Linked DNA regions of Homo sapiens: region 2 is linked to region 1. Evidence: promoter capture Hi-C in human tissues and cell types (Jung and others, 2019). All regions are on one chromosome and are shown on one strand. Each heading gives the region's core, a stretch centred on a gene start or on the middle of the fragment in contact. The rest is flanking DNA. Distances are from core to core; before and after follow the strand shown.

What was found. The method cuts DNA at HindIII sites, captures the fragments that hold promoters and counts their contacts. A contact is called where the count stands out against the background at its distance.
Region 2: a fragment that was not itself captured here is called in contact with the fragment with the promoter of MASP2 in region 1 in 1 of the 25 tissues and cell types used here (dorsolateral prefrontal cortex).

Annotation. Positions count from the first base shown.
Region 1 is chr1:11,043,887-11,051,095 of GRCh38, reverse strand. It overlaps MASP2 (MBL associated serine protease 2), which reads left to right and starts at 3,857. Exons shown (of 11, transcript NM_006610.4): 1 at 3,857-3,893; 2 at 3,977-4,205; 3 at 4,363-4,540; 4 at 5,557-5,688. The coding sequence starts at 3,889. RefSeq lists an enhancer at 4,520-5,352. The HindIII fragment of the contact is 18,625 bases long and covers 1-7,209 here.
Region 2 is chr1:11,795,746-11,799,754 of GRCh38, reverse strand. MTHFR (methylenetetrahydrofolate reductase) reads left to right here. Exons shown (of 12, transcript NM_005957.5): 5 at 3,356-3,549. Among named protein-coding and RNA genes, the nearest start is that of MTHFR, 8.2 kb to the left of the region's middle. The HindIII fragment of the contact is 7,275 bases long and covers 1-4,009 here.

The sequences.
Region 1 (7,209 bases), core at 2,608-5,107:
AGGCTTTTGTTTAAGAATTGCTTGAGTTAGGGCACTGTGGCTCATGCCTGTAATCCCAGCACTTTGGGAGGCCGAGGCGGGCGGATCACCTGAGGTCAGGAGTTCAAGACCAGCCTGACCAACATGGTGAAACGTGGTCTCTGCTAAAAGTACAAACATTAGCCGGGTGTGGTGGCGGGCACCTGTAAGCCCAGCTACTGGGGAGGCTGAGGCAAGAGAATTGCTTGAACTTGGGAGGCGGAGTAGCTGGGCTTACAGGCACGTCCATGCTGGTCTCAAACCCCTGACCTCAAGTGATCCACCCGCCTCGGGCTCCCAAAGTGCTGGGATTAAGGCTGGGCCCAGTGTCAAGAGTTCAAGACCAGCCTGACCAAATGGAGAAACCCCATCTCTACTAAAAATACAAAATTAGCCGGGTGTGGTGGTGCATGCCTGTAATCCCAGCTACTAGGGAGGCTGAGGCAGGAGAATCACTGGAACCCAGGAGGCGGAGGTTGCAGTGAGCCGAGATCGCGCTATTGCACTCCAGCCTGGGCAACGAGCAAAACTCCATCTCAAAAAAAAAAAAAAAAAACAAACCACCAAAGTGCTGGGATTCCAGGTGTGAGCCACCGCATCTGGCCTTATGATAACATTTTATCTCCTACACAGCTTCTTGTTTTCCCTGGAGGTTCTTTTTTTGTTTGTTTCTCATTTACTTAGTTTTCAATAAATTTATCACTAATTTGGCCCCAAATTTTTCACCAATTCTCTAATGCTCCTTGGACTCAACAGGTGTTCTGTCATCGTCCCCTTTCTGGAGAAGCTGTCCAGAGCCTTCTCACCGCCCCCAATGGAGTCCCTTAGTGAATGGCATCTCTTGGACCTTATGTCTTCCTATTGAAACCACCCTTGCAAAATTATGACATAACCGACCCCATCCTGCTCCTGACCTCCAAGCTGACCCTGCTCATTCCTGGGTGTAGGCCCAGCTGACCGGCGGAGGAATTTAGAGTTTAACTTGAAACAAGAATAATAATAGTTCTCCCTAAAACTACTCTCTTCCCTGTTCGGGGGCTGAACCACCACCTTGGTAAGATTTTTTTTTTTGAGACGGAGTCTTGCTCTGTCACCCAGGCTGGAGTGCAGTGGCGCGAGCTTGGCTCACTGCAAGCTCCGCCTCCCGGGTTCACGCCATTCTCCTGCCTCAGCCTCCCAAGTAGCTGGGACTACAGGTGCCCACCACCACACCCGGCTAATTTTGTATTTTTAGTAGAGACGGGCTTTCACCGTGTTAGCCAGGATGGTCTCAATCTCCTGACCTCGTGATCCACCCACCTCAGCCTCCCAAAGTGCAGGGATTACAGGTGTGAGCCACCGTGCCCGGCCTCCACCTTGGCAAGATTAATGAGCAGTCACAAGACAGGTGTAGTTTCTTTCTTTCTTTTTCTTTTCTTTTTTTTTTTAAGATGGAGTCTCGGCTGGACATGGTGGCTCACGCCTGTAATCCCAGCACTTTAGGAGGCTGAGGCTGGCGGATCACAAGGTCAGGAGTTCGAGACCAGCCTGGCCAACATGGTGAAACCCTGTCTCTACTAAAAATACAAAAATTAGCCTGGCGTGTTGACACATGCCTCTAATCCTAGCTACCTGGGAGGCTGAGGCAGCAGAATCGCTTGAATCCAGGAGGTGGATGCTGCAATGAGCTGAGATCGTACCACTGCCCTCCAGCCTGGGACAGAGCGAGACTCCGTCTATTTTTTTTTTTTTTTTTTTTTTTTTTTGAGATGGAGTCTCGCTGTGTCCCAGGCTGGAGTGCAGTAGCACAATCTTGGCTCATTGCAGCCTCCAGGTTCAAGCGATTCTCCTGCCTCAGCCTTCCAGGTAGCTGGGATTACAGGCACGCAACACCATGCCCAGCTAAGTTTTGTATTTTTAGTAGAGATGAGGTTTAACTCCAAAATAATTCTTTTTCCTGATCTTTTGCATGTGATTTACTATTTGATTTTTCTCTTTCTCTTTGTTTGTAAAACATAATTATTCTCTCCAGTGTTTTTAAATATGTGTAAAGCTGTATTAATATTTTTATCTCCTTTTCTGGGCACTTGGGGCACACTTTCGATCAGTATCACGTTCTTCAGTTCTGGGAAATTTTCTTGCATTATTATTATTGCTATGTATGTATTTTTTGAGACAAAATCTTACTCTGTCACCCAGGCTGGAGTTCAATGGCATGAACATGGCTCACTGCAACCTTGAGACCTCCTGGGCTCAAGCGATTGTCCCATCTCAGCCTGCCAAGTAGCTGGGACTAAAGGTGCATGCCACCATGCCTGGCTAATTTAAAAAAATTTTTTTTTTTTTTAGAGACAAGGTCTTGCTATGTTGCCCAAGCTGGTCTTGAACTCCCGGTCTCAGGCGACCCACCTGCCTCAGCCTCCCAGCCTCCTGGGATTATGGGCAGGAGTCACTACACCCAGCCAGAGTCCCGGTCTCTAAAAGAAAATAGGCCAGGCATGGTGGCTCACGCCTGTAATCCCAGCACTTTGGGAGGCTGAGGCGGGTGGATCACCTGTGGTTGGGAGTTCGAGACCAGCCTGACCAACATGGAGAAACTCCGTCTCTACTAAAAATACAAAACTAGCCGGACGTGGTGGCGCATGCCTGTAATCCCAGCTACTCGGGAGGCTGAGGCAGGAGAATTGCTCGAACCCCGGAGGCAGAGGTTTGGTGGCTCACACCTGTAATCCCAGCACTTTGCGAGGCTGAGGCAGGTGCATCGCTTTGGCTCAGGAGTTCAAGACCAGCCTGGGCAACACAGGGAGACCCCCATCTCTACAAAAAACAAAAACAAATATAAAGGGGATAAAAAAAAAAAAAAGACAAGACATGAATCCATGAGGACAGAGTGTGGAAGAGGAAGCAGCAGCCTCAAAGTTCTGGAAGCTGGAAGAACAGATAAACAGGTGTGAAATAACTGCCTGGAAAGCAACTTCTTTTTTTTTTTTTTTTTTTTTGAGGTGGAGTCTCACTCTGTCGTCCAGGCTGGAGTGCAGTGGTGCGATCTCGGATCACTGCAACCTCCGCCTCCCAGGCTCAAGCAATTCTCCTGCCTCAGCCTCCCGAGTAGCTGGGATTATAAGTGCGCGCTGCCACACCTGGATGATTTTTGTATTTTTAGTAGAGATGGGATTTCACCATGTTGGTCAGGCTGGTCTCAAACTCCCAACCTCGTGATCCACCCACCTTGGCCTCCCAAAGTGCTGGGATTACAGGTATAAGCCACCGAGCCCAGCCAAAAGCGACTTCTAAGCCTGCAAGGGAATCGGGAATTGGTGGCACCAGGTCCTTCTGACAGGGTTTAAGAAATTAGCCAGCCTGAGGCTGGGCACGGTGGCTCACACCTGTAATCCCAGCACTTTGGGAGGCTAAGGCAGGTGGATCACCTGAGGGCAGGAGTTCAAGACCAGCCTGACCAACATGGAGAAACCCCATCCCTACCAAAAATAAAAAATTAGCCAGGTGTGGTGGTGCTCGCCTGTAATCCCAGCTACTTGGGAGGCTGAGGTGGGAGGATTGCTTGAACACAGGAAGTAGAGGCTGCAGTGAGCTATGATTGCAGCACTGCACTGAAGCCGGGGCAACAGAACAAGATCCAAAAAAAAGGGAGGGGTGAGGGGCAGAGCCAGGATTTGTTTCCAGGCTGTTGTTACCTAGGTCCGACTCCTGGCTCCCAGAGCAGCCTGTCCTGCCTGCCTGGAACTCTGAGCAGGCTGGAGTCATGGAGTCGATTCCCAGAATCCCAGAGTCAGGGAGGCTGGGGGCAGGGGCAGGTCACTGGACAAACAGATCAAAGGTGAGACCAGCGTAGGGCTGCAGACCAGGCCAGGCCAGCTGGACGGGCACACCATGAGGTAGGTGGGCGCCCACAGCCTCCCTGCAGGGTGTGGGGTGGGAGCACAGGCCTGGGCCCTCACCGCCCCTGCCCTGCCCATAGGCTGCTGACCCTCCTGGGCCTTCTGTGTGGCTCGGTGGCCACCCCCTTGGGCCCGAAGTGGCCTGAACCTGTGTTCGGGCGCCTGGCATCCCCCGGCTTTCCAGGGGAGTATGCCAATGACCAGGAGCGGCGCTGGACCCTGACTGCACCCCCCGGCTACCGCCTGCGCCTCTACTTCACCCACTTCGACCTGGAGCTCTCCCACCTCTGCGAGTACGACTTCGTCAAGGTGCCGTCAGGACGGGAGGGCTGGGGTTTCTCAGGGTCGGGGGGTCCCCAAGGAGTAGCCAGGGTTCAGGGACACCTGGGAGCAGGGGCCAGGCTTGGCCAGGAGGGAGATCAGGCCTGGGTCTTGCCTTCACTCCCTGTGACACCTGACCCCACAGCTGAGCTCGGGGGCCAAGGTGCTGGCCACGCTGTGCGGGCAGGAGAGCACAGACACGGAGCGGGCCCCTGGCAAGGACACTTTCTACTCGCTGGGCTCCAGCCTGGACATTACCTTCCGCTCCGACTACTCCAACGAGAAGCCGTTCACGGGGTTCGAGGCCTTCTATGCAGCCGAGGGTGAGCCAAGAGGGGTCCTGCAACATCTCAGTCTGCGCAGCTGGCTGTGGGGGTAACTCTGTCTTAGGCCAGGCAGCCCTGCCTTCAGTTTCCCCACCTTTCCCAGGGCAGGGGAGAGGCCTCTGGCCTGACATCATCCACAATGCAAAGACCAAAACAGCCGTGACCTCCATTCACATGGGCTGAGTGCCAACTCTGAGCCAGGGATCTGAGGACAGCATCGCCTCAAGTGACGCAGGGACTGGCCGGGCGCAGCAGCTCACGCCTGTAATTCCAGCACTTTGGGAGGCCGAGGCTGGCTGATCATTTGAGGTCAGGAGTTCAAGGCCAGCCAGGGCAACACGGTGAAACTCTATCTCCACTAAAACTACAAAAATTAGCTGGGCGTGGTGGTGCGCACCTGGAATCCCAGCTACTAGGGAGGCTGAGGCAGGAGAATTGCTTGAACCTGCGAGGTGGAGGCTGCAGTGAACAGAGATTGCACCACTACACTCCAGCCTGGGCGACAGAGCTAGACTCCGTCTCAAAAAACAAAAAACAAAAACGACGCAGGGGCCGAGGGCCCCATTTACAGCTGACAAAGTGGGGCCCTGCCAGCGGGAGCGCTGCCAGGATGTTTGATTTCAGATCCCAGTCCCTGCAGAGACCAACTGTGTGACCTCTGGCAAGTGGCTCAATTTCTCTGCTCCTTAGGAAGCTGCTGCAAGGGTTCAGCGCTGTAGCCCCGCCCCCTGGGTTTGATTGACTCCCCTCATTAGCTGGGTGACCTCGGGCCGGACACTGAAACTCCCACTGGTTTAACAGAGGTGATGTTTGCATCTTTCTCCCAGCGCTGCTGGGAGCTTGCAGCGACCCTAGGCCTGTAAGGTGATTGGCCCGGCACCAGTCCCGCACCCTAGACAGGACGAGGCCTCCTCTGAGGTCCACTCTGAGGTCATGGATCTCCTGGGAGGAGTCCAGGCTGGATCCCGCCTCTTTCCCTCCTGACGGCCTGCCTGGCCCTGCCTCTCCCCCAGACATTGACGAGTGCCAGGTGGCCCCGGGAGAGGCGCCCACCTGCGACCACCACTGCCACAACCACCTGGGCGGTTTCTACTGCTCCTGCCGCGCAGGCTACGTCCTGCACCGTAACAAGCGCACCTGCTCAGGTGAGGGAGGCTGCCTGGGCCCCAACGCACCCTCTCCTGGGATACCCGGGGCTCCTCAGGGCCATTGCTGCTCTGCCCAGGGGTGCGGAGGGCCTGGGCCCTGGACACTGGGTGCTTCTAGGCCCTGCTGCCTCCAGCTCCCCTTCTCAGCCCTGCTTCCCCTCTCAGCAGCCAGGCTCATCAGTGCCACCCTGCCCTAGCGACTGAGACTAATTCTAACATCCCACTGTGTACCTGGTTCCACCTGGGCTCTGGGAACCCCTCATGTAGCCACGGGAGAGTCGGGGGTATCTAGCCCTCGTTCCTTGGGACCTGGTTCCCTGGTTCCCTGCACTGTGGGACGGGCCAGTGCTCTGGGGCGTGGGCAGCCCCACCTGCTGGCGCTGACCCTGCCTCCCCCGACTCGGTTTCTCCCTCTCGGTGTCTCTCCTTGCCTCTCTGATCTCTCTTCCAGAGCAGAGCCTCTAGCCTCCCCTGGAGCTCCGGCCTGCCCAGCAGGTCAGAAGCCAGAGCCAGCCTGCTGGCCTCAGCTCCGGGTTGGGCTGAGATGGCTGTGCCCCAACTCCCATTCACCCACCATGGACCCAATAATAAACCTGGCCCCACCCCACCTGCTGCCACGTGTCTCTGGGGTGGGAGGGTCGGGAGGCGGCGGGGTGCGCTCCTCTCTGCCTACCCTCCTCACAGCCTCATGAACCCCAGGTCTGTGGGAGCCTCCTCCATGGGGCCACAGGCTCCTTGGCCTCACCCCCCGTTTTGAAGATGGGGCACTGAGGCCCGGAGAGGGGCAAGGCCTCGCTCGAGTCCAGGTCCCCAGAGGCTGAGCCCAGAGTAATCTTGAACCACCCCCATTCAGGGTCTGGCCTGGAGGAGCCTGACCCACAGAGGAGACACCCTGGGAGATATTCATTGAGGGGTAATCTGGTCCCCCGCAAATCCAGGGGTGATTCCCACTGCCCCATAGGGCACAGCCACGTGGAAGAAGGCAGGCAATGTTGGGGCTCCTCACTTCCTAGAGGCCTCACAACTCAAATGCCCCCCACTGCAGCTGGGGGTGGGGTGGTGGTATGGGATGGGGACCAAGCCTTCCTTGAGGGATAGAGCCCAGCCCAACACCCCGCCCGTGGCAGCAGCATCAGCTGTTCCAGCGAGGAAGGAGAGCACCAGACTCAGTCATGATCACTGTTGCCTTGAACTTCCAGGAGCAGCCCCCAGGGCAGGGGTCAGACCTGGGGAAAGGGGGTGATGAGAGACCCTTCTTCCGGATGGTTCCTCCAGGAACCCAGGGGGCTGGCTGGTCTTGGCTGGGTTCGGGTAGGAGACCCCTGATGAATAAACTTGGGAATCACTGGGGTGGCTGTAAGGGAATTTAGGGGAGCTCCGAAGGGGCCCTTAGGCTCGAGGAGATGCTCCTCTCTTTTCCCGAATTCCCAGGGACCAAGGAGAGTGTCCCTTCTTCCTCCTTCCTGTGTGTCCATCCACCCCCGCCCCCCGCCCCGGCAGAGCCTGGTGGAACTCAGT
Region 2 (4,009 bases), core at 1,335-3,834, 750 kb before region 1:
GAGGCTGAGCCAGGAGAATCTCTTGGACCCAAGAGGCGGAGGTTGCAGTGAGCCGAGATGGTGCCGCTGCAGTCCAGCCTCAGTGGCAGAGCAAGACTCCATCTCAAAAAAAAAAAAAAAACAACACCCCACAAAAGAGGGATATTTACTAACAGGATTCCAGAGGGCAGGGAACCCAAGATCAGGAGATGGCCTCAGACCTCACAAGGCACTGGAAGAGGTCAAAAAGCAAGGCCCTCCCTCATTCCCTCTGGGGCCACAGGGTCCCCCATCTCCGCTTCCCACTGCACATCTGTGCTTCATCTGGGAGACCTGATACCCATGCTTTTCCACACACCTGGCCTGCTCCTGAGTGTGCAGAGTGTCAGTTCCAGCCAGTTCCCCAGGCTAATGGACAGGCCTCCGTTCCAAATTCCCAGGAAAGAGAATCACCATTGGCCACAGCCACAAGACCAGGTTCCCCCAACAGAAATGGGTGGGTTGGACTTCTCTCCCACCCTTGAAGCTGAAGGCTGGCATTGAGCCCTCAGCGTCTCAGACAGCGCTCAGGTATGGCAAGACAGTGTGCACCAGGGACAGGAAGTCCCGGGATTGGCACATTTTCTGGGATGACAGTTTTTTTGCCAATATTCTGGGAGAAATCCTACCATTTTTATATTAAACATGGCTATGTTATGGAGTAGCATCTAAAGTGATATGAACTAAAAAAAAAAGGCCAGGTGCGGTGGCTGAAGCCTATAATCCCAGCACTTTGGGAGGCCAAGGCGGGTGGATCATGAGATCAGGAGTTTGAGACCATCCTGTCCAACATAGTGAAACCCCGTCTCTACTAAAAATACAAAAATTAGCCGGGCATGGTGGCGCGTGCCTGTAGTCCCAGCTACTTGGTAGGCTGAGGCAGGAGAATCGCTTGAACCCAGGAGGCGGAGCTTGCAGTGAGCCGAGATCGCACCAATGCACTGTAGCCTGGGCAACAGAGCCAGACTCCGTCTCAAAAAAAACAAAACAAAAAACCCAAAAAACAAACCACGTGGCTTCAAGAAAATTACATGTTGTGAGTAACTTTGGCCTTGTCCCTAACCCCCGATGGACATGTCCATTCTGTCAACAGGGGTGTTTAGGTGCTAAGTCTGGGAAGCACTGATTAGGAGTCAGAGAACAGACATTTCCAACTGTTAAATTGTCATCGCTTGTATCAGCCATTATATAGTCAGTTACTGGGGGAATATGCACCCGTGATGGGCGTTAGGTGATAATGATTGGAAACTAGTGAAGCTGTGAGCTCACAGTTGCTGAATGGTTTCTTACTTTGCTTATCAAGTGGGTAATGAAGATGAGTGGATTAGAAAACACCAACCTGTTGGGCATGGTAGCTCATGCCTGTAATCCCAGAGCTTTGGGAGACTGAGGCAGGAGATCAAGACCAGCCTGGGCAACACAGTGAGACCGTGTCTCTACAAAAAATAAAAACATTTTAAAAAAGAAAGCCCTCAGCTGTTCATGATAGAAAAATAGAGTAAATAGCAAAATCTATACGTAATCAAATGCTAGATTTGTTCGGTGATATTTAGGTATTGTAGCTATACTTTTCAGCTATTAAAAAGCCTTGTTGTTTCTGAAATTCCTACTGGGAAAATAGCTTTGTTATTGCAAGTGTGAAGCCCCATTGCTTTATCCCCCACTCCCTTACCCCTTGAAACAATAGTTTTTATATTCATTTTTTGATGACTCTGGGTTTCTTAAGAACGGAACTGCCTTATCAGAGCAAAGCAGCTTGGCCTTCCGCCTGGCTCAGAGTCCTGCCCTGGGCTTGGGCTGATGAAACCAGCACTCCATGTAGTTTCATGAAGGCCTATGGTCATCCTGCTTGCCTGACCGAGCAAGGCGGCTAGTAAGTTTAGTCATTGAGGAAAGGGGTCAGAGAGTTCACAGAGCCAGTAAGGAGCCTATGGGACATCTGATCCCACCTCCTAAGCAATTCTGGAATCTTGTCTTCAGCATCCACTGCCCCTGTGTTTTCAGACTCCAGGAGCTCATTGTTTTGTGAGTGGCTTATAGTACTCTAGCCAGCTCTCTGAACCGGATGCTGGTTCTGCCATTAGAAACAACACAGAATATGACTAATAAAGAACTTCACTAGGGGGCTGGGTACAGTGGCTCATGCCTGTAATCTCAGCACTTTGGGAGGCCAAGGTGGGAGGATTGCTTGAGCCCAGAAGTTCCAGACAAACCTGGACAAGATAGCAAGACCCCATCTCTAAAAAATAAATAATTAATTAAAAAAATTTTTTTTAATTAGCCAGATGTGGTGGCTTGCATCTGTAGTCCAAGCTACTCAGGAGACTGAAGTGGGAGATCACTTGTGCCCGGGAGTTCAAGGCTACAGTGAGCCATGATTGTATCACTGCACTCTAGCCTGGGTGACAGAGCAAGACCCTGTCTCTGAAACAAAACAAAACAAACTCACCTATGGTGGATCCTTTTTCCCCAGGACAGACCTTTGGACATTTGAAAGGAGTTTCTGTATTCTTTTCATTCTTTTTTTTTTTTTTTTTTTTGAGACGGAGTTTCGCTCTCGTTGCCCAGGCTAGAGTGCAATGGTACGATCTCGGCTCACTGCAACCTCTGTCTCGTGGGTTCAAGCAATTTTCCTGACTCAGCCTCCTGAGTAGCTATTACAGGCATACACCACCACACCTGGCTAATTTTTGTATTTTTGGTAGAGACGGGGTTTTACCATGTTGGCCAGGCTGGTCTCGAACTCCTGACCTCAGGTCATCCTCCTGCCTTGGCCTCCCAAAGTGCTGGGATTACAGACATGAGCCACCGCACCCTGCCATCCATTATTTTCTTTGAAGAAAACATCACTTTCTTCAGTTCTTCCTTGTGTAACTTGGTTTTTAGCTTTTCACTATCTTGGACCCCTGAGTAATTTCAGTGTTACATTAAAAACAATGTTTAATCCGGTGCCTAGAGAAAAGTCAAGCTTACTACCCCAGATGCTGCCCAGCCAGTGCTAACTGTAGCATTTTCTCTTTTCTATGGCCACCAAGTGCAGGCCTGATTTGCTTGGCTGCTCAAGGCAGGACAGTGTGGGAGTTTGGAGCAATCCACCCCCACTCTTGGAACTGGGCTCTGAGCCACCTCCCCTGAGAGTCATCTCTGGGGTCAGAAGCATATCAGTCATGAGCCCAGCCACTCACTGTTTTAGTTCAGGCTGTGCTGTGCTGTTGGAAGGTGCAAGATCAGAGCCCCCAAAGCAGAGGACTCTCTCTGCCCAGTCCCTGTGGTCTCTTCATCCCTCGCCTTGAACAGGTGGAGGCCAGCCTCTCCTGACTGTCATCCCTATTGGCAGGTTACCCCAAAGGCCACCCCGAAGCAGGGAGCTTTGAGGCTGACCTGAAGCACTTGAAGGAGAAGGTGTCTGCGGGAGCCGATTTCATCATCACGCAGCTTTTCTTTGAGGCTGACACATTCTTCCGCTTTGTGAAGGCATGCACCGACATGGGCATCACTTGCCCCATCGTCCCCGGGATCTTTCCCATCCAGGTGAGGGGCCCAGGAGAGCCCATAAGCTCCCTCCACCCCACTCTCACCGCACCGTCCTCGCACAGGCTGGGGGCTCTGGGTGGAGTGCTGAGTTCGCTGAGTTCTTCCCAGATCTCCTCTCAGGTCCAGAACTTGCACAGCGTTGCTTGGCCACCCCATTTTGGTTACCTCTAATTTTCCCCCCAAAACCCAGCAACAGTGTCTGTTGAGGGGTTTGTTGTACTTTGGCCAACAAGCATCACCAAAAGGGATTCTAATTCTCATTACAAATCCTGCTTAAATCAGTGTTTCCCAAAGGTGGCTGTCATCAGAACCACTTGATAAGCTTTTTCAAAAAGTGGATCTCCAGGTCCCACCCCTGGAGGTTCTCACTCAGTAAATCTGAGGGAGGTCCTCGGAATGTGTGTTTTACTTCTTGAGCTTGGCAGGTGATTCGGATGATCAGTGCAGCATGGGAACA